Linked DNA regions of Homo sapiens: all the other regions are linked to region 3. The links are contacts of gene promoters, found by promoter capture Hi-C in human tissues and cell types (Jung and others, 2019). All regions are on one chromosome and are shown on one strand. Each heading gives the region's core, a stretch centred on a gene start or on the middle of the fragment in contact. The rest is flanking DNA. Distances are from core to core; before and after follow the strand shown.

Evidence for each region. The method cuts DNA at HindIII sites, captures the fragments that hold promoters and counts their contacts. A contact is called where the count stands out against the background at its distance.
Region 1: a fragment that was not itself captured here is called in contact with the fragment with the promoter of EPHA7 in region 3 in 3 of the 25 tissues and cell types used here (H1 embryonic stem cells, heart right ventricle and mesendoderm cells).
Region 2: a fragment that was not itself captured here is called in contact with the fragment with the promoter of EPHA7 in region 3 in 1 of the 25 tissues and cell types used here (dorsolateral prefrontal cortex).
Region 4: a fragment that was not itself captured here is called in contact with the fragment with the promoter of EPHA7 in region 3 in 1 of the 25 tissues and cell types used here (mesenchymal stem cells).
Region 5: a fragment that was not itself captured here is called in contact with the fragment with the promoter of EPHA7 in region 3 in 1 of the 25 tissues and cell types used here (mesenchymal stem cells).
Region 6: a fragment that was not itself captured here is called in contact with the fragment with the promoter of EPHA7 in region 3 in 2 of the 25 tissues and cell types used here (mesenchymal stem cells and mesendoderm cells).
Region 7: a fragment that was not itself captured here is called in contact with the fragment with the promoter of EPHA7 in region 3 in 1 of the 25 tissues and cell types used here (mesendoderm cells).

The regions. Positions count from the first base shown.
Region 1 is chr6:93,128,909-93,132,320 of GRCh38, reverse strand. No RefSeq gene overlaps it. Among named protein-coding and RNA genes, the nearest start is that of EPHA7, 290 kb to the left of the region's middle. The HindIII fragment of the contact is 5,337 bases long and covers 1-3,412 here.
Region 2 is chr6:93,854,030-93,857,332 of GRCh38, reverse strand. No RefSeq gene overlaps it. Among named protein-coding and RNA genes, the nearest start is that of TSG1, 150 kb to the right of the region's middle. RefSeq lists an enhancer at 2,836-3,303. The HindIII fragment of the contact is 3,274 bases long and covers 1-2,967 here.
Region 3 is chr6:93,418,284-93,421,595 of GRCh38, reverse strand. EPHA7 (EPH receptor A7) reads left to right here and starts at 2,037. Exons shown (of 17, transcript NM_004440.4): 1 at 2,037-2,351. The coding sequence starts at 2,255. RefSeq lists a silencer at 1,790-1,989. The HindIII fragment of the contact is 11,378 bases long and covers 81-3,312 here.
Region 4 is chr6:93,035,256-93,038,532 of GRCh38, reverse strand. No RefSeq gene overlaps it. Among named protein-coding and RNA genes, the nearest start is that of LINC02531, 310 kb to the right of the region's middle. The HindIII fragment of the contact is 8,389 bases long and covers 1-3,277 here.
Region 5 is chr6:92,980,800-92,984,317 of GRCh38, reverse strand. LOC105377897 (a long non-coding RNA gene) reads right to left here. Exons shown (of 5, transcript XR_942787.2): 3 at 2,921-3,064. Among named protein-coding and RNA genes, the nearest start is that of LINC02531, 260 kb to the right of the region's middle. The HindIII fragment of the contact is 6,274 bases long and covers 1-3,518 here.
Region 6 is chr6:93,076,391-93,079,604 of GRCh38, reverse strand. No RefSeq gene overlaps it. Among named protein-coding and RNA genes, the nearest start is that of EPHA7, 340 kb to the left of the region's middle. The HindIII fragment of the contact is 7,607 bases long and covers 1-3,214 here.
Region 7 is chr6:93,109,743-93,113,241 of GRCh38, reverse strand. No RefSeq gene overlaps it. Among named protein-coding and RNA genes, the nearest start is that of EPHA7, 310 kb to the left of the region's middle. The HindIII fragment of the contact is 3,561 bases long and covers 71-3,499 here.

The DNA of each region.
Region 1 (3,412 bases), core at 275-2,774, 290 kb after region 3:
AATGGTTATCATGGAAGCTATTTGCAGATATGACTTAGGTGCTAGAAAGAAGAGTTGACAAGGAAATGATTTGCTTTAAAGTGATCCTAAACAATGAGTACAACATACCTGTTGTTAAGTTGCCTTTCTTTCTCAGTATATGTCTTGAAGAAATTGAGACTCTACTCGTAAAGTAATACATGCTGATATGATTCTTTATTTGGTAAGAGTAGTGTAATGAAATCTGTAGCAGATGGGAACAAAGAAAGTATACATATACATACATACATATATATATGTACACATAAACACACATACATTCTAATGTTAAACCATAAAAAAAACTTCTATGACTAGCCAAATGATAACAATAATTAAACTTCAGGATGTATGCCATCAATGACCAAGTTTGAGTCAGTCATGTATTATTCCTAAATTTACTCTGAAAGCATATAAAACCAATTTGTCTCAATTCTTATAAAATTTTCATATTTGTGTATACTCACCAAATAATTCCAGTAAAAGAGTTCTTTTTGGCTCTATGTGATTTATTCAGTTACTTAAAAAAGTCTTTACAAAAAAATTTGTAATATTTTTACATATATGCACGTTTTGTTTTGATCCAAAGTCTACAGTTATGTTAAAGGTAAAGGATAAAGTATTTCATGTGTGGGACAATGTTGGATTTTGAATTCAAATGATGCCTGCTGTTGTCACTAGATATGCAATAGCTAGTTAAATAAGATTTGGCTTGACACAAAATGAAGTACAATGTATTAAAAATTATCTTACAGTCACTAGGGAGATTTTGTTTGTATCCAATGCCAGCCATGTCAGTAAAACAACTATCAACTTAGTAAAAATGCCATTCAAATTTGATGTCTGTCCCAAATTATCTAACAGATTTAATTCAACCAAGTAGAATTTAATTACATATTGATAATGTACAGATTAAAATTCTCACAAATTAACACAAGCATATAAATTTGCTACAATGGTGAAAATCAGGAAGATCCTAGAAATTCATATTTAAACTCTAATACTGGAAGAAATAATTTATCAAACCTTATTTTCACACTGGCCTGGTTGACTTTACCTAGAAATAGCTATTTCATGTACCCAACTCTTAAGAATCTGCAGAAGTTGTAGAGAGCCACTCAAGGGTTTTTGAGCACCAAAGGTCATGTGGTTATTGCATTAGTTACAAAGTTAAAGAAGCACTTTCACAAAGGTCAGGATTTTGTTTAGTGGAGAATTTCATTTGATGAATAATAGATGTTGGTCATTCTTCATTATGAACTCAGAGCAATTTCAAATTTCTATCACCGTTTCCAATGAGTAGCATATTCTGGAATACATTCTACAGAAAAAAATATAATAAATAGTCTTAGATTAAGGGTTCTAATACTAGACACTAGAGCATCTCAAAAAAAAAAAAAAAAGATCCTAGAGAAATGTAATATGGATATGGCAGAGTGAGAAACCTATTTATCTGTATTTGGTTATCTCTCTCTCTCTCTCTCTCTCTCTCTCTCTCTCACACTCTCTCTCTCTCTCTATATGTATATATATAAAATATATATTTATTATTATACTTTAAGTTTTAGGGTACATGTGCACAATGTGCAGGTTAGTTACATATGTATACATGTGCCATGCTGGTGTGCTGCACCTGTTAACTCGTCATTTAGCATTAGTTATATCTCCTAATGCTATCCCTCCCCCCTCCCTATATATATATTTTTTTAATTACTGAGAATTCAAATGTGAAGTATCCCCCAAAAGAGAAAGTAACTCACATCATTTATATACCGTTTTTCAATACTTTATTGACCAAAAGTAGTTTTCAATTTCTGTCTTCATTATCTCAAACTCCCTGCACTACAAAATTAAAACTAATTGTCAGATAGTGGGAAATTTGAAATACTTCTGAGTTCAAGAGGTCTCCCTCTAATCCTTCTTCAGTTGGAAGGTACATATTACCAGAGGTTGCTCTTTCATTTGATAAATTACTTATGCCATGGGGTTGTGACTTCCTTGACTCTTGCTAATTATGTTTTATATAATTAATGTTCTATTATATAATCAGTTTATTATATAACAACTCTAGCACCTTTCAGCATATAAATTTGCCTCCAATAGTTCCAAGAAAAATAAAGATATGTGATTTGAACTGTATCAATTTATTACCTCCGTAGCTAACATTCTTCGTCTATTGCCTCCCTCTTTTCTCTTCCAGCCTCAGATGAAGAAATTTTTAATTTCCCATTCAAGACTCAGACCTCCACCTGCATTTTGACTTAGTTTCCCATCAGTTTTCTTTCATTTGTGAGGTATCCCTATCTTCCCAGTTTTTGACATCTCATTCTGTATTTGCCCCTTTCTCCAACCTTATAAATAATCTGATATTGTTTTTACTTTAAATGATAACAGTAAGCAAAGTAAGAACCATCACCATCACCATTAAAAAGAACAACAACAATGACAAAATTTCAACCCTTATCCTGACCCTTTTTCTGACCTTCCATCCAAGGTCTAATCTTTCTATCTCCATTTTTCTCATTGTCTGGTTAATTTTGAACCTATTAATATCTGGCTTATATCTCTTTGACTTTACTGAGACTTTGCCGCATTTAACTTAGAGAAACTATTTTGCATTCTTTTCTTGAGGATACTAATTCAATTCCATAACTTCAACTATCCCCTCTATGATGATAATTACAAAATCTTAATCTTCAAAGCCAAACCTACACAGCCAACTATTTGTGACTATCTCCAACTGGATGATCTAAAAGTACTCAAAAATAATACATTTACATGACTGAATTCATCTTCTTTTGTATCAAACTTGCTTCCCTACCTGAAATGTCTATGTTGGTCCACAGCCTCATTTTTTACTCAGTATACCAGTTAAAAAACTGAGCCTTAGACTAAACAATTTATTTCCTCTTACATCCTACATCAAATTAGCGTTCAAATCTTGAAAATATTACATCTTTAGCACATCTCAAACCACACTTTTCCCATCAGTCTTATATATTGATGCCCAAGTTGTCTTTCTAAAATGTTCGTATCTCTTCAGGTTACTCTCGCCTTGGAACCATTCAGTAACTCCTCTACCTACTAGAAAAAGCACACAAAGTATGCTATTTATGATGTTCTCTACTCTTATGTACCCCAGTACATTATTCTCTTTTCATTTAGGGTTCCTGCACCCAATGCACACATCCATTTTTTTAAATACTGAGTACAGATTATTTTAATACTCACTTTAAAACCCATCAATATTACAAGGTGTAATAAAATGGAACTCTTGAGTGCAATAGACCCACATTTTAACATAATTATGCATCTTAATAGTTGTCAAATTTGGTAAAGTTTTCTGACAGTATAAGAATCTGTTTTTTTCTCTGCAAAATAAGAATATTAGTAT
Region 2 (3,303 bases), core at 81-2,580, 440 kb before region 3:
ACTGGGGACTCTGGAGCTAAAACAGCCCTTCAGAGATGTCCTCAGTTAAAGTAGGGGAGCAAGCCTTTGTACTCATCATCAACCAGTCATATTATATGACCTGTTCCTTGAGAAAGTGTGAGACCCCAGGTGAGGCAGTTCATTTTGGCCAAGGGCAATTCCCAGCAAAAGATTATGTGTATGCTGTCAGTATGCACATTCTAAAAAGCTTTAGGAATGAGTTCCTTTATTCTCTAAGGGGATCCTGTGCATCATCCACAATAATATTTATTAAAAGTATTATTCAAAAATATCATCAGAAACACAAACCAAGCTTTTTTTCGAAGAGGGCAGATTGGAGGCATTGTTAGCATGTCTCTCCTACTTGGAAAGATGAAATCTTGTGTAGAGATCCACATTGTGAATGTTTTTCCAAGAAATTATACAGGAATGTAACAGGAAAATAGGAAAGAAACCACAGACCCTTTGAAAGAAGCAGTTAACAGCAGCCTACAGAGGGAACCAGAGGAAAAATTCCCCAGAGAAGACAGTGAACCTGCTAACATACCCAGCACATCACTACTACAACCAGCATCTGAGAAAGTCATTATACAAAAATTCTCTGTAACCAAGGAACTCATATAGAGTCATTACCACTGAAAGAAACTAGAGGCGAAACTAGATGATAATAAACTATAAAGTCACAACCTCATGGGAAAAAATAAAAACCCAATTGAATAAAAAATATGATGGGTGCACCAAAATCTCAGAAATCACCACTAAAGAACTAAAGGACTAATGAATGAATGAACGAATGAATAAATAATTATAAGAGAGAGTGTATTTGTTTCTTCTCACGCTGCTAATAAAGACATACCCAAGACTGGATAATTTATAAAAGAAAAAGTTTTAATAGACTTACAGTTTAGCATGGCTGGGGAGGCCTCAGGAAACTTACAATCATGGTGGAAGGGGAAGCAAACACATCCTTCTTCACTTAATGACAGGAAGGAGAAATGTCAAACAAAAAGGGAGAAACCCCTTATAAAATTATCAGATATCCTGAAAACTCTTCACTAACACGAGAAAAGCTGTATGGGGGTAACCACCCCCATGATTCAATTACCTCCCACCAGGTCCCTCTCACAACATGTGGGGATTATGGAAACTACAATTTGTGATGAAATTTGGGTGGGGACACAGCCAAACCATAGCAAATAGTCCACTCAGATGAGAAAGAACCAGAAAAATAATTCTGGCAATACAAAAAAACACAGATCTATAACACCCCCAAAATATTACAATAACTCTCCAGCAGTGGATCACATCCAAGATGAAATCTTTAAATATCAAATAATTCAAAAGGTTGATTTCACAACCAACCTTTCTCTTGTATGTCCTAGTTATGTCAAAGACGTACAAGAGAAAGGTGAAAACCAACATATATAATATTTCTTAAAAACTCAGGATATGAATTAAAAATCTTCTGATAGATAATTTAATGAGAAACCAAACCAAACTTGTGGATATGAGAAATGCATTTAGGAAACTACAAAATGCGGTAGAAGATTTTAACAATAAGCTAGACCAAGTAGAAGAAAGATTTTAGAGCTTGAAGAAAAGGCTTTCAAACTAACCCAATAAGACAAAAAGAAGAAAGGCTTAAAAGAAATGAATGAAGTCTCCAAGAAATATGGAATATGTAAAATGGTTAACCTAAGAATTATAGATTTTCTTCAAGGAAAAGAAAACATGCCAAAAGAAAAAGCAAAAAGTTTGGAAAACCCATTTGAGAGAATAATTGAGAGAAATTTCTCTGGCCTTGCTAGAGATTAAAACATCCAAATATGAGAAGCTAAAGAACTCTTTGGAGATGCATAGTAAAAAGGACGTCATCAATGCATATATAGTTATCAGGCTATCTAAGGTCAACATGAAGGAGAGAATTTAAAGAGCAGTGATAAAAAGACATCGGGTAACCTATAAAGAAAACCTATCAGACTAACAGCAAACTCCTCAGCAGAATCCTTACAGACCAAAGGGATTGAAGTCCTATCTTCAGTCTCCTTAAACAGAATAACTGTCAGTCAAGAATTTTCTATACAACAAAACATAAGTGAAAGAGAAATAAAGTATTTCTCAGACATGCAAATGCTGAGGAAATTTGTCAATACTAGACCAGCCTTATAATAAATGTTAAAAGGAACTCTAAATCTTGAAACTAAAGGTCAATACACACCAGAATAGAAATGCCTGAAAGCACAAAAATTCACAGTGCTTATAAAACAATAACACAATGCAGAAAACAAACTCACTAGTAACAAGACAATGACTGGAAGAGTACCTCACATCTCAATATTAGCATTGAATATGAATGGTCTCTATGATCCACTTAAAAGATACAGATGGATAAATGGATAAAAATATCACAAACTAGATATCTTCTTTCTTCAGGAGATACACCTAATGTAAGTATTCTTATAGACTCAAGATTAAGGGGTAGAAAAAGATATTTCATACAAATAGAAAGTAGTAACTATTCTTACATTAGATAAAACAGACTTTCAAGAAACAACAGTTTTTTAAAAAGACAAAGTCATATAATGATAAAAGGATGAAGTGAACAAGAAAATATAACAATCCTATATATATATCCACCCAACTCTGGAGCTCTCAGATTCATAAAGCACTTACTACTAAACCTAAGAATACAGATAGCAACACAGTAATAGTGAGGTAATTTAACACTCCACTGACAAACTAGACGGATCATTGAGGCAGAAAGTCAACAAGGAAATACTGAATTTAAATTGCACTCTAGAAGAAATAGACCTAATATTTACAGAACATTCTACCTAAGAACTGTAGAAGATACATTCTTCTCACCAGCAGATAAAACAGTATCTAAGATAGACCATATGAGAGCCCACAAAATATGTCCCAATATATTTCTAAAAATTGAAATTATATCACATATCTTCTCAAACAGCAGAATAAAACTAGAAACCAATTCCAAAAGGAACCCTCGAAACTATACAAATCCATGGAAATTAAACAATCAACTTCTGAATGACTTTTGTGTTAACGATGAAATCAATATGGAAATCAAAACATTTTTCAAAATGAATGATAACAGTGACACAAGTTACCAAAATCTCTGGGATAAAGACAAAGCAATGCCGAGAGGATAGTGTATAGTGTTAAATGCCTACATCAAAAAGTCTGAAAGTGGCCGGGCGCTGTGGCTCACGTCTGTAATCCCAGCCCTTTGGGAGGCCGAGACAGGCGGATCACAAGGTCAGGAAATCGAGACCATCCTGGCTA
Region 3 (3,312 bases), core at 788-3,287:
GGTTTTAATGGAAAAGTATTTGTATTCACATCATTGAGTATTAGTCATTCAATAGATGAAAGGAATATTTTAAACTTTAAAGGCCACCTTGGTGTCATTTTAAGAAGTGGGGATGAGACCCTGGGGAAAGTGTTGAAATCCTGGAGAATTCGTTTTAACTATTAGAAGTGGTTTAATATTTGTAAGTTTGTAGTTCTGTGAGTTCTAAAGACTAAGTGCAGGGATTTATGTTTTTAACTCTTATGTTTTAGTTTACAAGTTTCATCCTTAAATCATCTATTTGTGTAAATAAAGCTTCATCTCCTCTATAACAAGTGTGTTCTCCCCATATTTTTTTTTGTCTCTTTCTAAGGTTAATCTATTACGCATTTACATTTTCTATGCATCCTTTAAGGGACACTGAAGATGCTTTTTGATACACTTTCTAAAATATTAAATAGGCATAATGGCTAGGAATATGTAACATTGAAGAAATGTTTCAGAAACTACAGAATCAAAGAGGTTTAAAGAATAAATTTCATATCTCTCTTCCATGTTATTTTATTAGGCAAATAAAAACTACAGGAGACAATTTAACATAAAATACAAATAAATATCTGGGGGTTGTCATCTTAGAGAACTCCCTACTATAAAAAGCAGAAACAACTCAATTTACTTTATATTTCCAGATAGAAAGGTTGGAAAAAGTTTGGAGCCTTATGTGAGATCAAACTTTGGATCTATCGGAAATAAAAGGAAATCATAAATGACTGAGAAATATTTTTAAAGGAAGAAATTATAGGACAAAAAAAGAAATTCATCTTAAACATGTGATCAAGTTACTCTGTGTGACCTTTGAAATTGAAGATTTGGCAATTAAAATTTTAAAGTTCTTCCTCTTATTACCTACCTCTTGAATACAAAGTGTCCGAAACTGCCTAATGGAAAACAGATTTCTCTACGCAGCCTTCCTTGCCGTTCGGGTTGAATGAATTCAACTGGAGATATTGGTTATGACTTTTTTTATTCTTAGTTTCTCTTTGAAAGATAAGCATTGAATAATTCCTGAAAATGGTAAATACTTGCGAAGAGAAAGGTCTTGCTTTATGAATTTAATACGTAGTGGCATTCTTTAAAATTCAGTGTAATTTATGCAGCGAAATGGAAAACTATCAAAGTGGAGGCAATCCAAGGAAAACCTTAGAAAATGATAAACGCGTAAAAAAACGATACGCAACCATCAGAAGGTTCTCTCCTAATGTCTCACTTCGCTCAACAAACTATGGTGAAAAGACAGGGCGGAGGAGAAGGGGCGCTTAAAACAAAAGACTTCCTTTCCCACTCCCTTTTCCTCTGTTTCTTTTGCCAGAGCTTGTTGCAAACTCTTGGAAACATTGTTTAAACATAATACACTTGGTTACTTTATTCTTTCAGGGATTGTGGTGGGTGGTACCTAAAACTGACGGCTCTTGGAGTAACAGAAAAAGAGAAGTAGAAACTTTTCAAAAAGGCAAAAAACAAAGTTACCCAGCCCGCGGAGGTTCTAACAACAAAAAAGTAAAACACACTTTACTTAAAGGCACAGCTCATTTCACTGTCCGGGCTCCGTGCTTGGTAGCTGAGAGAAGGCTTGCTTCGCCTCTGGTTTCTAAAAGATCGCGCGGAGTACAGCTATAGAAAAGAGTGTAAGTTGGGAGCGTTATTCTCGGATTTATTCTGCTACGCGAAAGCTGCGGTTGCTAAAAGCAGAGCGTCCAAAGCAGCACACACCTCGGCTACCATCCTCGTTCTCCTCTGAACATCCAGCGCGAGCTCAGAACCTGGAGGGAATCCTGGACCAGCAACCTGACTCCGCTCGGCACCGATTGGCTCCTGCCTCGGACCCCGCCCCCGTGGCCGGGGCGGCCATTTCGCCGGGACCCGCCCCTTGGCCCTGGGAATCGCCTCCTGGCAGGCCGGCTGTGCCTGCCACTCAGCCCGAGTGGCGGAGGCTCTCAGCTCGGAGCCCCGCCCCCTCCCCCCCTAATTGATATTATTGGAGTGTGGAGCAAGCGGCCGGTCTGCAGTCGGAGACTTGCAGGCAGCAAACACGGTGCGAGCGAACAGGAGTGGGGGGGAAATTAAAAAAAGCTAAACGTGGAGCAGCCGATCGGGGACCGAGAAGGGGAATCGATGCAAGGAGCACAATAAAACAAAAGCTACTTCGGAACAAACAGCATTTAAAAATCCACGACTCAAGATAACTGAAACCTAAAATAAAACCTGCTCATGCACCATGGTTTTTCAAACTCGGTACCCTTCATGGATTATTTTATGCTACATCTGGCTGCTCCGCTTTGCACACACAGGGGAGGCGCAGGCTGCGAAGGAAGGTAAGGTGATGGGAAAGCAAAGTTTGTTCTGACTTATTTATTTAGATGTCTACCTGCACAAGCCAGCTCGTCCGCGGCGCTGCCGGCCGCGCCTCCGGCGCCGGGCGACCCTCCCCCGCCGGCTCCCCGCCCCCTCACCGCTGAGGCCGCTCCTGGCGGACCAGCGAGCGCGAACCAGGGCTGTTCCGAGCCGCCTACAGCCCTGTGCCCGGAGCCGTCCATCCGACGGGTGCGGGATTTCTGGCGCGGGCAGTCTGGAGGGCGTGAGCAGCAACGGGGGTGGGGTGGGGTTGGAGGAACTGCCGGCGAGCTTATTTCTTAGTACCTCAGGCGGGTCACATCTCTCTCTAGCTCGGTCTTCCTTGTCTCCTTATTCGCCTTCTGTGGGAGCTGCGGCCAGAGTTGGGTTGGAGACTGGGAAATGCAGCCCCTACCGTCTCCGCCAGCCCGCCGGCGAGTGGCGGGAGCCCGGAGCCTTCCCAGAGGGACCGAGACTTCGATGAGCTCGGAAAGCTCGGGTTACTAATGAAGTGCTCACTGCGTCGGAGGCGGCGGCGCGGTCCTGCGGTTGGCGCTCGGCCGCCAGCACGGAACAATAACGCCGCGGAGGTGAAGCGCGGCGTGCGGCGCGCGACCCGAGGGCCGGGGATGTCTCCATTCAGCGCGCGCTGCGCGTCGGGCCCAGCGGTCATGGGGGCAGCGGCAGCCCAGCGGGCTTGGTCGGGCCGTGGAGGCAGGGGGCGGGCTGGAGCTGTGCAATTTGTAAGGATGCCGCCTGGGCGACTCAAAGTCCCCAATTATTTGCCCCATAGTGCAGCAATTGAGGAATCCGAGTGCCCAATCCTTGCCAAAGACCTGAACCCTGAGGGTTGGTTCTGGTAGGAGAAGGCAGGTTTTATTTGGCAAGCTGTTACAGATACGCCTGTATATGGTTATGTTTTCCTTCTTTGAACCTTTGACA
Region 4 (3,277 bases), core at 462-2,961, 380 kb after region 3:
TCCTGATAAATGGAGTAGAAAGACTGAAAAAATGGAAGCACTACAGAGAAAAGCTATCAAACCATCCTTGGTCTTTGAGAAACTATCCCTTAGCTAGTGTCTTACAGCATGAGAGAGGGATTTCTTAACTGCTCAAAGTTAAACTGCAACGTGAAATGGGAAGCTGTTGCAGCCTGGCCAGGCAGTTCAGTTTGCTTTTCACACTTGTAGCACCAACTTCTTTCCAGTGATTCTTAGCCTTGTCAGATATTGTTTTAAGTGGCTCCATGGGAACATGAAGGAAACTTGGGCAACTCTAGGGAGAGAGTTTGTGCAGGAGCCTTGTCACATGAGTCCACTAAATGTTAGGGGAACCTGAGCTATGCTAGGCACCACCTTGCCTGACAATTCTTCTGAAAATCCTGCTGGAAAATTCATCACTGATTTATTATCTGAGCACTAAAAGAAGTAGCTGAATAGTATGTAAGGGCCAAACTTTATAAAAAGTAGGTATTTTTGAGCATTAGGTTTTTTTCCCCCTAAGATGGTGTATAAGAGGCTTTTAGTGTGCCTTAGCCATTTGGAAATAGCAAGATAGTGCATGAAGATCAACTCTGTGAGCTTTAGTTCAACAAAGAAAACAGAATCCACTGGAACCATGAACTACATTCCAGATTAAAGGGAGAAGAATGTGGGGAAACAGCCCCTGCGAATACATCTGCTTGATAAAGGCAGATCTCCAGGCATTTGGAGCACACACTCACCTGGATCAGCAACCTGAACCACCCCACCCTTCCTGTGCAGAGACTGTGGTGCAGTGGGGCCCTCTCCACTCTATGCCCAGGCATTCAGAGCACCGAGTTGCCCAGATTGGCAGCTTCTGTTACCCTACCCTTCTTGTGCAGTGATCTGGGTGCATGGGGGCCCTCTTTGCTTTTGACCCAGTCAGATCTCCAGGCACTCAGAGCGCCCATATATCTGCACCAGTACCCTAAGCCAGCCCACCCTTTCTATGTAGAGACTGTGGTGCAGTGGGGCTCTCTCTACCCCATGCCCAGGCAGGTCTCCAGGCAATAGGAACATTTGTTTGCCTGAATTAGCACCCTGAGCCACCACTGCATTTCTGTGAGGAGATTGTTCAGTGGGACCCTCTACACTCCATGCCCAAGCAGATCTTCAGGCACCCACTCTTCTGAATTAGTAGTTTAGGCAGCACCCATCCCCTTGCAGAGAGCTTGAGGCTAAGGAGGTTTCCTAGTTCCACACCTAGGCACATCTCTGAACACTTGTTAGTTACCCAATGGATTCTCCCCCAGTGCTGGTGCATGTGCCCGCAACCAGAATACTTGTAGTGGTCCTGCCTGGTATGACCCTGCCCATCTTGCCCCTGTACATTCTGGGCTGAGCAGGGTACTCAGGCCACTGTGTACTCCATAGATCAGCCCAATGTCTGAGGCAACAGAGAATATCTCCTGGTAAACAAGGATTAAGTATTAATACACACCCAGTAACAGGCATGTTGGCCATAGCTGACTCTTACCCATAAGTGCCATCTACTGGCTTGTAGGTTGAATGACACAGCCCATTATGAAACCTGCTGAAAAAAGTGTGTATGTCTACAGAAGCATTCTCTACAGTCACATTCACAAGGGAGGTGGGAAAGGGGAAAAAAAAAAAACCCAATAATATAATAGGAAAATAAAATAGTCCTACTCATACAAAAATAATAGAAAGTAGAAATGCCAGTGTCTCCAGATGAGAAGGAACCCACACAAGATTTTCTTGAAAAAACTGAATGTAGTGACACTACCAAAGCCTCTCATTATCTCTCCACCAATGGTCCATAATCAAAATGGAAATTCAGAAATGACAGATAAATAACTCAAAGCATGGATTGCAAGGAAGCTCAATGAGATCCAGTACAAAGTTGAAAATCAACACAAAGAAACTTCTAAATCAATCCAGGAAATGAAGGAACAGATAAACATCTTAAAAAATAAGTCAGCCAAGCTTCTGATATTGAAAAACTCACTTAAAACTGCCAAAATACAATTGAGATTTTTATCAATAGACTGGATTAAGCAGAAGAGAGAATTTCAAGTTTGAAGAACAATCTTTTGAACTAACCCAGTCAGACAAAAATAAAGAGAAAATAATTTTTAAAAATCTTCAAGGAGTATAAGATTATATAAAGCAATCAAACCTCCAAATTATTGGCATTCTTGAGAGAGGAGAAAAAATAAACAACCAAAAAGATATAGTTGAGGAAATAATTCAATTAAATTTCCCTAGTCTTGCTAAAGAGGGAACATCCAGATACAAGAAATCCAGAGAAGACCCACAAGATACTTTACAAAATGAATATCACCAAGGCATATAGTCACCAGACTATCCAAGGTCAATGCTAATGAAAAAACTTAAAGACAGCTAGAGAAAAAGGTCAGATCACATACAATAGGAACCTCTTCAGGTTAACAGTGAACTTCTCAACAGAAACCTTACAAGACAGCAGAGATTGGTGGCCTATTTTCAGCATTATTAAAGAAAAGAAATTCCAACCAACAATTTTATACCCTGCCTTCATAAGTGAAGAAGAAATAAAATGTTTTCCAGACAAGCAAGTGCTAAGGGAATTTGTTACCACTAGACCTGCCTTGTAAGGCACATTTAGGGAGTTCTAGACATGAACACAAAGGAACAAAACTTGTTACCACAAAAACATGTCAATTACATAGCCCACAGACTCTAAAAAAGCAACCAGAAACTACAAAGCAAATAGAAACTACAAAGTGACCAACTAATGATATAGTGATAGAATCAAAACTTCACATATCAAAATAACCTTGAACTTAAACAGTCTAAAAGCCCTATTTAAATGGCATAGAGTTGCAAGTTGTATTTTAAAAAAGACTAACACATCTCCTGTCTCTATTGATTGGAATAGTTTCAGAAGGAATGGTACCAGCTCCTCCTTGTACCTCTGGTAGAATTTGGCTGTGAATCCATCTGGTCCTAGACTTTTTTTGGTTGGTAAGCTATTAATTATTGCCTCAATTTCAGAGCCTGTTATTGGTCTATTCAGGGATTCAACTTCTTCCTGGTTTAGTTTTGGGAGGGTGTATGTGTCAAGGAATTTATCCATTTCTTCTAGATTTTCTAGTTTATTTGCATAGAGGTGTTTATAGTATTCTCTGATGTTAGTTTATATTTCTGTGGGATCGGTGTTGATAACCCCTTTATCATTTTTTTATTGCATCTATTTGATTCTTCTCTCTTTTCTTCTTTACTAGTCTTGCTA
Region 5 (3,518 bases), core at 420-2,919, 440 kb after region 3:
TCCCTACAAAGGACATGAACTCATCATTTTTTATGGCTGCATAGTATTCCATGGTGTATATGTGCCACATTTTCTTAATCCAGTCTATCATTGTTGGACATTGGGGTTGGTTCCAAGTCTTTGCTATTGTGAATAATGCCGCAATAAACATACGTGTGCATGTGTCTTTATAGCAGCATGATTTATAGTCCTTTGGGTATATACCCAGTAATGGGATGGCTGGGTCAAATGGTATTTCCAGTTCTAGATCCCTGAGGAATCGCCACACTGACTTCCACAATGGTTGAACTAGTTTACAGTCCCATCAACAGTGTAAAAGTGTTCCTATTTCTCCACGTCCTCTCCAGCACCTGTTGTTTCCTGACTTTTTAATGATTGCCATTCTAACTGGTGTGAGATGGTATCTCATTGTGGTTTTGATTTGCATTTCTCTAATGGCACTGGTACCAAAACAGAGATATAGATCAATGGAACAGAACAGAGCCCTCAGAAATAACGCCGCATATCTACAACTATCTGATCTTTGACAAACCTGAGAAAAACAAGCAATGGGGAAAGGATTCCCTATTTAATAAATGGTGCTGGGAAAACTGGCTAGCCATATGTAGAAAGCTGAAACTGGATCCCTTCCTTACACCTTATACAAAAATCAATTCAAGATAGATTAAAGACTTAAACGTTAGACCTAAAACCATAAAAACCCTAGAAGAAAACCTAGGCATTACCATTCAGGACATAGGCATGGGCAAGGACTTCATGTCTAAAACACGAAAAGCAATGGCAACAAAAGCCAAAATTGATAAATGGGATCTAATTAAACTAAAGAGCTTCTGCACAGCAGAAGAAACTACCGTCAGAGTGAACAGGCAACCTACAAAATGGGAGAAAATTTTCGCAACCTACTCATCTGACAAAGGGCTAATATCCAGAATCTACAATGAACTCAAACAAATTTACAAGAAAAAAACAAAGAAACCCATCAAAAAGTGGGCGAAGGACATGAACAGACATTTCTCAAAAGAAGACATTTATGCAGCCAAAAAACACATGAGAAAATGCTCATCATCACGAGTCAGTTTTTTATCTATTTGGTTACAATCAACTCTCTATTTGAATAATCCAAATCCACATTTTTTAGTAAAACAAGTCTCTCAGTCTTTCTCTCTCTCGATGTATTTTCTGCTGGTTTGAGTCTATCAGTCTTCTCACAATAGTTATACTTTTAGTGTCTTTTTGGAGTTATTTGAACCAACTGAAAAATATTAGTTTCTAGATTCAGAGAGTTTTAAAAAAACATTTATTTTGTCCCTTTCTAAAAAAGGGAGTTGTAAACATACCTTGATTTGTTTTCCAATTTTAGGGAAACTAAGTTATAATCAGCCATAGTTTATCAAAGGCCTTCTTAGTTAAACGCTTTACTTATTGGAAATGATATCATTTGCATCTTCTAGCCTTACACATCCTGGAATTTCAGGACTTTCTCAATTGCCTTCCAAGCATGTCTGCAGCCTGCCCAAGTTTATTCTGTGTGCATTTCATTTTGTAGTACCTTGTCAAATGCAACCAACTCATGCTGCTATTAAAATCCTATTTTCCCCCTTCTACAATCAAAGCCAAAATGTACATTATCTGCTAAGATATAACAGATGATAGGTTCATCAATTGTTTTGCTACTGCAAACATAGGTCAGTATATTTCCAACCTTCATTAACAGTTTTCTCACTGTCCACTATCTGACACCCTAAAGCCAATATTTTTTATTTTTTGTTGGGGAAGCATTACACTTTTGGGTTCTACTTTCTATATAATCAGCTTAGCTAAATCAGGCTGTGGTAATAAATGACACCCCAAATCTGAGTGGCTTAATAACAACCACGTAACTCTTACCCATGCTATTTGTCCACCATGGGTCAGTTTAGCTCTTTACTCCAGAGTGCAGAATAATGGAGCATCCTTTATCTTTGATATGGGCTAGTGGAATAGTGGGTTAACCAATCATTCTCAAAGTTTCTGAAGGGAAGTGGCACATTCCACTTTCTCTCATATTTCATTGGCCACATCAATAGGGTGAGATGAATATTCTTTCGTCAGGAGGAAATTCCAAAAGAGGCAGTTTCAAATATTTGGGATAACAGGACTAGAAGATCACTAAAAGTCCTCCCCACACCATCCGTTTTATTTCATGCTCTCTTTCTGGGAAAATCCTTCACCCTATTCTCTTTGTTCAATAAGATAGGTTCGACATATAGTGTCATACTGTATGTGAGTGCATTTGATATTAAAAAAACAGTCATATCAATTTACTAGTAATGCAACATCCCATTAGTAAATAAAGAGCTAGAAAAGTAAATGAAATTAATATTTGTTTTATTCTTTTTTTCATCAACTTTATAGGCCCAAAAAGACTAGGTAGATTTATATTTTCAATATGTTTGAAAAAGGCAAATATGATTCATGCATTTTGTTAAGAAAAATATAAAGGGAAAAAATACATATAAAAAGACAATATGAACCAATTACGTATTTCATCAAACCAAATAGAAAGCAATTTATGATTTTATATAAATATTTGTATCAAAACTATTTTTATCACTTAAATTGTGAGAGATGACACAGCATGGTGTAAATTTTGTATTTAGAATCACAGTGATGTAGAAATAAATTCTAGCTTCATTTTTATTAGCTTTGCACTTTGGGCAAATTACTTGTGAAAACACCATAAACCACTATACAAATTGGAGTTGGAGAAAGGGATAAGAATCCTGTTAAATTTATTTTGTTTTTCTAACTAACCATTTAGCTCACTGTACATTCTTATTGGGACACTATCTTTGAGCGTCACCATCCCATGTTTCCCAGAAGTGGATGCAGTCTAAAGAATTTTCTACATTAGTCTTACATAGAACTGGAATCTACTCACCTTCTGAGTGTTAGCATCACCTTTGAAGTTTATTTCTTAAATATCCTGTAGGTGAGGCAGTTCCATGATTTTGAAGGCACCATTGCTAATTTGGAGACCTTCCCAGAGCTCACTGGGAAGGATGACGATCTCATGCTCTCAGGCCTAAATTTGATCAAAAGGGACAACATTTCGATGCTAAGCTTACAAATCCCTCAGTGTATTTATAAATCCCTCACATACAGTTTACATATCAGGGAATTCACCAGCTATAGGAGTGCAAATTTTGGATAAGTTCTAGCAACCTTCACCTTAAAGACACAAAAAACAAAAAAACAAAAAAGAAATCCCAGCAGGGTGCGGTGACTCACACCTGTAATCCCAGCACTTTGGGAGGCCAAGGGGGGCAGATAGCTTGAGCCCAGGAGTCTAAAACCAGCCTGGCCAACATTGTGAAACCTTGTCTTTAGTAAAAATACAAAAATTAGCTGGATGTATGTATGTACAGGTGGGTGCCTGTAATCTCAGCTACTTAGGAAACTGAGGCAGGAGACTGCTTGAACCTGGGAGGCGGAGGCTGCAGTGAGCCAAGATAGTGGCACTGCACCCTAGCCTTGGC
Region 6 (3,214 bases), core at 439-2,938, 340 kb after region 3:
TGGGTGGCCAAGTATTTTCCATTATATGTTCCCCTAAGAGAACACCCAGAAGAGTAGTAGTTGGCATTAGGAGCATAAACGAGGAAACATGAGAGTAGCTGTCCGTTTAGCTTGTTGTTCTACATCCCATCCCTGAGGGCAATAGGCACTCGTTGGGAAATAACAGTCTAAATGGGATAATAGCATAATCAAGGGTTAAAGTGAGGTATTCTAGTGAGATACATTTAATTCTTTTTTCCTAACAGTTCTTTAACATTTAGAGAGACATACATTAGCATAACACTACTGGTTTCTCCCCAGCCACTCCATCATCCCTTCTCTGGGGTGGAAGAGAGACCTACCAGACCTAACAGGAATCTAAGAGAAAGTGGCCAGGTCCCTCCTCTCTTTTTTGTTAGGAGTGAGCTGTCTAAAGAACACATGCTGTGCTATAAGACACACTCAGCCCCTTCAGTGGCAATGGGTTCCAGGCTCACAGTGCTATTTTGTGGTTTGGGGAAGGAGGTGGTATTCAGAGATAGGAGAAGCAAGACTAACTCCAATGCAGTTAGGAAGCTCAATAATGCTGCATATATAAACTCTAACTCTAATCTCAGCTTTATCATCGATGGAAAGTTTGTTTTGTTTTGCCACCTTGTTTACTTTCTTTCCCAATTTGCTTCAAGTCCAGGTGGAGAAAAAGAATATTATTTTGGGGACTCCCAAACCTCCAATATTATATATATAATATTGAAGATGTTACCAATATTGCACTTATGGTCAGTACAAAGCTAAGAGAGGAAGCCTGTTTCTTAGATTTGACATTAACAAATAATTTCTCCTGCCAAATCTACTAAGTGAATTAGTGCCAAATTTAGAAATGTATCTATTAGGAGAGAAGGAGACTACTTAGTAATTGGTAATAAAATGGCAAAATTGTGGGCGTCAAGATAAGCCAAAATAAGCCATATTTCATTTAATGGCTTTCTTTTCAATACCTGAAAAAGGCATATTATGAAAAAGTTGATTCCCTATAATTAATTTTTTAAAGCAAGACTGAAAAACAGAAAAACATAATAGAATATTCTAGCACCACTACTACCCCACCCTATCTCCTACCCTTTCTCTTTTCCCCCATCTCCCATCACACATATAATATAATGTTACCTAATGTTTATCAACATGTCCAGAACAATACACTGTTTGTAGAATAGCATATGCTAAGTTTGTAGAATACAATATGCTAAGTTTGTAGAATACAATATGCTAAGTTTGTAGAATAGCAATATGCTAAGTTTGTAGAATACAATATGCTAAGAATTGTAGTTATCACAATTCTTCAAATAGGGACCATTCATTTTTCAGATGAGGCACCTGACGCTTAGAAAGGTTAAATAAGTAGTCTGTAGTCCCAAATGTAGTGATGAGCAGATCCGGGATTCAAACCAAGGTTGGTCTGAGTCCAAAGCCTAGACAGTGAGGCCCTAAACCATCTGATTTTTGGATTATATTGCCAATGAAATTAACATGTGCCATGAGTGCAGCTGAGATTTCTTGTGCTACTTGTTATGTTATTTTCTAATAATTCTTTTCATTTGCATAATATGTTACTGCAGAGGAAGGTCAGCCCCTTTTGATAAAAGCATAGATATCCACATAATATTCCAATTCTTATTTCTTCTTGCCTTATGAAGGGTGAACATTTCATGAATACTACTTTATGGATGTGATTTTTTTAAGCTATAGGAAAGCAAAGTGGCAGTCTGCAGGAGTTTATACATTCCCTATCTCTTTTCCAGAATAAATCAAAGACAATCGAGTAGTGTGACACAAGATCTGTTCACAAGGATGTAATTGTGTAAAATTATTATATAAAAACATCTTCTGCAAAAAAGAAAAATAATTATATAAAACAAAGTTTTCTAAAGTTACTATAAAAGAAGTAGAATAAAATCAGGCACAACCAGCATGACACAGATAACTTGGGAGCTCTCCCATTTATTCCATAAACAAATTTTAATAGAAGACCAGGGTTACATTAAAAATTTAACTTCACAAGTTTTAGTCTTTCTTGAAAATGCATTTGCTTATCATATGCAGACTAATGGTTTGCATGAAAAATGCAGTTTGTAACGTATTATGGAATACCACTAAATGCTTTATGTTCTTAAAAATATTTTCCTTTAATGATACAGTCCAGCATACATAATTTAAGCTAGAGGCCTACACTAAGTGTGTACAGTTAATTTTGATTTAGGTTTATCACCTTACGGAGGACACATAACATTTTTATTTTGAATCAAAGAAAATTTTTAAAAATTATCTTGTATGTTGTAATACATATCTGACACGTATTTCATTTTGTGCAGTGTTTGGGTGGAGGAAATTCTGCCATTTATTACCTCCATTGCTTATCATAAATCAGAAACCAGGTGCCATTAAATATTCTCAGCAATACTTTGAGGTATGTATTATTTATCCTAATTCATAGAAAATAAAGCTTTCGACTCAGAGAGGTTACATAAAATGGGCAATGTCACATTGCTAGTTAGCATCCGAGAGGGTTCAAGGGGTGCAAATCAAGCACAGCAGTGTATGTTTTTATTCACAAGTCTATTTTACTTCCCAACATGCTAAGAATTGTATCTTATCAACCTTTTCTTGGTAGTGTACGGTTGGTATTGCCTTCATTTTTTTATCATAGAATTTCAATTCTTATGAGGTTTTTCCTTAAGTATAATTTCTTTTTCAGCCTAATAGTCTTTCAGTTCTATCTCCAGAATCTTTGTAACTACTAAACTGGCTTAAGGACTTAAATCTAGATGAGATTAAAGATTAAGAAGCTTGAGAATAACAAGATAAACATTTAATCAGTTTTGTCTTCAGACTGAAATCATGTAAAGCTTAAGCTTGCAGAGAAATGGGCAAGAACAATATGGCAACTGCTTTAGGCCTTTTATGAGTGTAGAGTTATTTAGTATCACAATAATTAAGCCATTTTCTTAGGCTACAATTCAGTCTCTCAGAATTTCTGTATGTATAAATTTCTACATACCCCTAAAGTCAGTGAACTAAATCTCTTCAAGATAAAGAATGATGACCCATTTTTCAATTCCCTTGATTCTATAGGGCTGTACTGTAGGTATGAAAACATTTACCTTATCATTATCCATGAGTTTTCTTTTTCTTTATTAATTGCTTTCTTCTTAAAGGAAAACACACCAATTCAGTTATA
Region 7 (3,499 bases), core at 602-3,101, 310 kb after region 3:
GGGAGGATTGCTTGAACCTAGGAGGTCGAGGCTGCAGTGAGCCATGATTGCGTCACTGCACTCCAGCCTGGGCAACCAAAGGAATTGCTGTCTCAATGAGATAATTGTTTTATAAATTTTTAAGACCTTCCTGTCTAAGGGTTTTGCAAATCAAAAATATTTTGGATTTAGCAGCCAGTTCATTATTTGTATGTATGTGAATTCTACTATTCCAATGAAAAACAAGGAGTATCATCATATACAGCTACAATATCTACTAATGTTTACAGTAAAACTAAATATATATAGGGCTTGAAATAGATAAGCATGGTCACATTCATTCACCTTGAATGATATCAATATTTAGAGGGAAAAAGCATTTATTAAGTCACTCAAGGACGGGATAAGACTTCTCCAAACGACTACACATTAGAGGTTTTTTAGGGTAATTCTTATCGGAAAGTTCTGAATGTCTCTCTCTCTCTCTCCTTCTCATATTTCAGGTTCAATAAAAAAATACTTAAAAAGAATGCAAAGAAAGGAGGGACTGAGAAAGTCAAAATTAGCCAGTAAATGTGATTGATTGAGGCTTATGTACTTTTATAAAAGTATTTAATATCAAGACTGAAACAGGTATCACTAATAAAAATAGCAAATAAGTTCATTCTATCCCATGGCTAGTTTCACCATGCTGTTGAATTCAGTCTATTTCCTGTTATTTATCAGCTACTTCTAAAGAATAGATGTCAACTAGTTTGCCCTAGGCTTACATTTTTTTAAATATAAAAAGTGTTTGTTTCCATAAAATAAAACGTTGCAAGTGCAAAATTCCACCATCAAATATGTGCCTCAGAATCAACTAATTAAGCTTTGTAAAAATGTACCAAATTGGGAAATCAATCCTCTCTTATCTGCACACAGAACATAACTCTAGAGAGCTGGTGTTGAGCCCAAGATTCTGTATTTGTATATGCTTTACAGGTAATTCTGATGGGAACATCCAATTAAGAACATATCCATGAGGTATGCCAAGGGACCACCTATAAAAATATGGAAATCTGGCCCAGATCAGGTGAGTTAGTGCATAGCTGCACAATGCGCCCCATTTATTCCTTGTTTTAAAATCTGAGTTGTTCCATAATCGTTTTATACTTGTGATAAATGATTATTTCAGAATCCTGAACTCAGCTGAACATTACTAATCTGTTTTCGTGTGAATGGCATATATGTCAATATGCATTGTAAACTGCAAAGTGATTTATAAATGTTGTGGTTGTTATTCCATTACAAACAACTGTGGTGTACAATCTGAGGAGGCAGGACTAATGTCTGAAAATGTGTGATGTCAGACTTCCCGCACCCAGCTCATGTAGAATTAGGATGTTATTTGGAATAGGAAATATGGAGAAAGCAATCACTTCACAATGCTTCACATTTTGCTATAACATTAAAGATGCATTTTTAATGTTGCCTGGTAGTAAATACTCAAAAAGCCACACAGAACTTGGAGAAAGTAGTGATCTTGTGTCATAATAGAAGGAATGCCACTTTCTAGTGGTGGACATTGGCTGTTTAAAAAGTAGAATAAATTCTTACCAAAGCCTCTGGCATGAAATTGTAGAAGATGAAGAATATCTCTATGTGTACTATTTGCACAAATAATTTAAAATGAATACGTAAGCAGATCCATCAATGAGATAGAGACGGGTCAATCTGAGCATGACGATGAGGTAAGGGACACAACAATGGTGATTAGGAAGATTTTCTAGATAGTAAGTGGTCAATGTGGATGAAGACTGTTACAGCTTCTGTTTCACTAATTCTATAAAACTTAGCCACATTGTTTGCTGAGAGAAATGCAGCTGCAAAACATTTATAATACTTTTCTTTTAAAAAAGGTGAAATGAAGCTGGGTATGGTGGCTCACGCCTGTAATCCCAGCACTTCGGGAGGTCAGGGTGGGCGGATTGATCACCTGAGGTCAGGAGTTCGAGACCAGCTGGGCCACCGTGGTGAAACCCCATCTCTACTAAAAATACAAAAAAAGTAGCCAGGCATGGTGGTGGATGCCTGTAATCCCAGCTACTTGGGAGGCTAAGGCAGGAGAATCGCTTGAACTTGTGAGGCAGAAGTTGCAGTGAGGCAAGATTGCGCCGTTGCACTCCAGCATGGGCAACCAGAGTGAAACTCCGTCTCAAAAAATAAAATAAATAAAATAAAAAAGGTGAAATGACCTAATGTTCAGCAAATATGAAAGATACAATGAAATGTCTGTGGTTACTGCTAGATTTCCCATTTAATCCCATGTCTCTTACTATTTTAATTTGAATCCATAACTGTATCTCTGGCACATGGTGATAACTGATAATTGTGGCCCAGTGTTCTTTAGGAAACGCTAAGTTATGGTGAATATTCCAAAATGCAACTAAGACAATTCTATGTTCTGGTTCTGGTCTCACAGTATTTTTAATTATTATTTTCACGTACTTTTATGAACTTTCAGCTTCTGCCAATATATAACAACAATTAAAAATTTTTTATTGCTACTAATGGCTTTTGATGTAATGCTGTTGCCAAGCTTAACAGGGATCACATGTTTTCCAACTGCTTTGTATGAAGCTTTTTTATATGGCCAAAACAAGAGACTGGAAAAAACAAAAGGAGTGATTTCATTTTTAGAATGACTCTAAAATGGATATTGGTATTAGTGAGCATGGGCTTAATTAAGAGTGAACAGTTGTTTGAGTTTAATTTATTAATATATTAATTAATAAACATTTGTTGAATACTTACTTCGTGCATGGAATTATGTTATCTGATTCTTTTTATTATAGTCCAGGGTTGACACTGACTCAACTGTGTCATTAGCTATACATCACTAGTCTCCAATTCCTGTGCTCTAACACTAGTCACACTCCCCCCTTGTTCATTTAGTAAATTTTTACCTCCATTATTTCCAGGTACCTCATCAATAAATCAATAAGTATTTTGATAGAAGATATTTAATTTGAGATAGGTAGAAGTGAATGAATAGATATTCTGATTTCAAGAAGTCAATCTTGTTGAATAGAGAAGGAATAAAAAGAAGATGGTATATAATTAAATGCTAAATTCAGTAGGGGACATGAAAGTTTAAAATCAGAGTGAGTAACATATATTAAAAACATTAAGAAAGGTTCTATACCAGCCACTCTCTGCTTTGAAGTCTTCTTTTTCTTCTCGTTTATGCTAGTATCAAGACTGCTCTTCTTTTCCTTCCTCTGTAACTTTTCTTCACTTGCTAGCTATTCCTGTGCTCTGTTATAATGTAGGAGTTAAAGGAACAGGGAGAATGCACTGGTATAGAGAAGGAGTCCATCGTCAGCTGTCCCCATTCAGTATTATACAATCATAGGTAATACATGATTTGTACATCACGTCAACTTAAGAGAGTCGGGGGAAAGGCAGAGTTTAGACCTGACCACCATCTGCTGAAAAGTTGACCCTAGGCTGAGTGAGTACTGGGGGACCACTCTGTTAG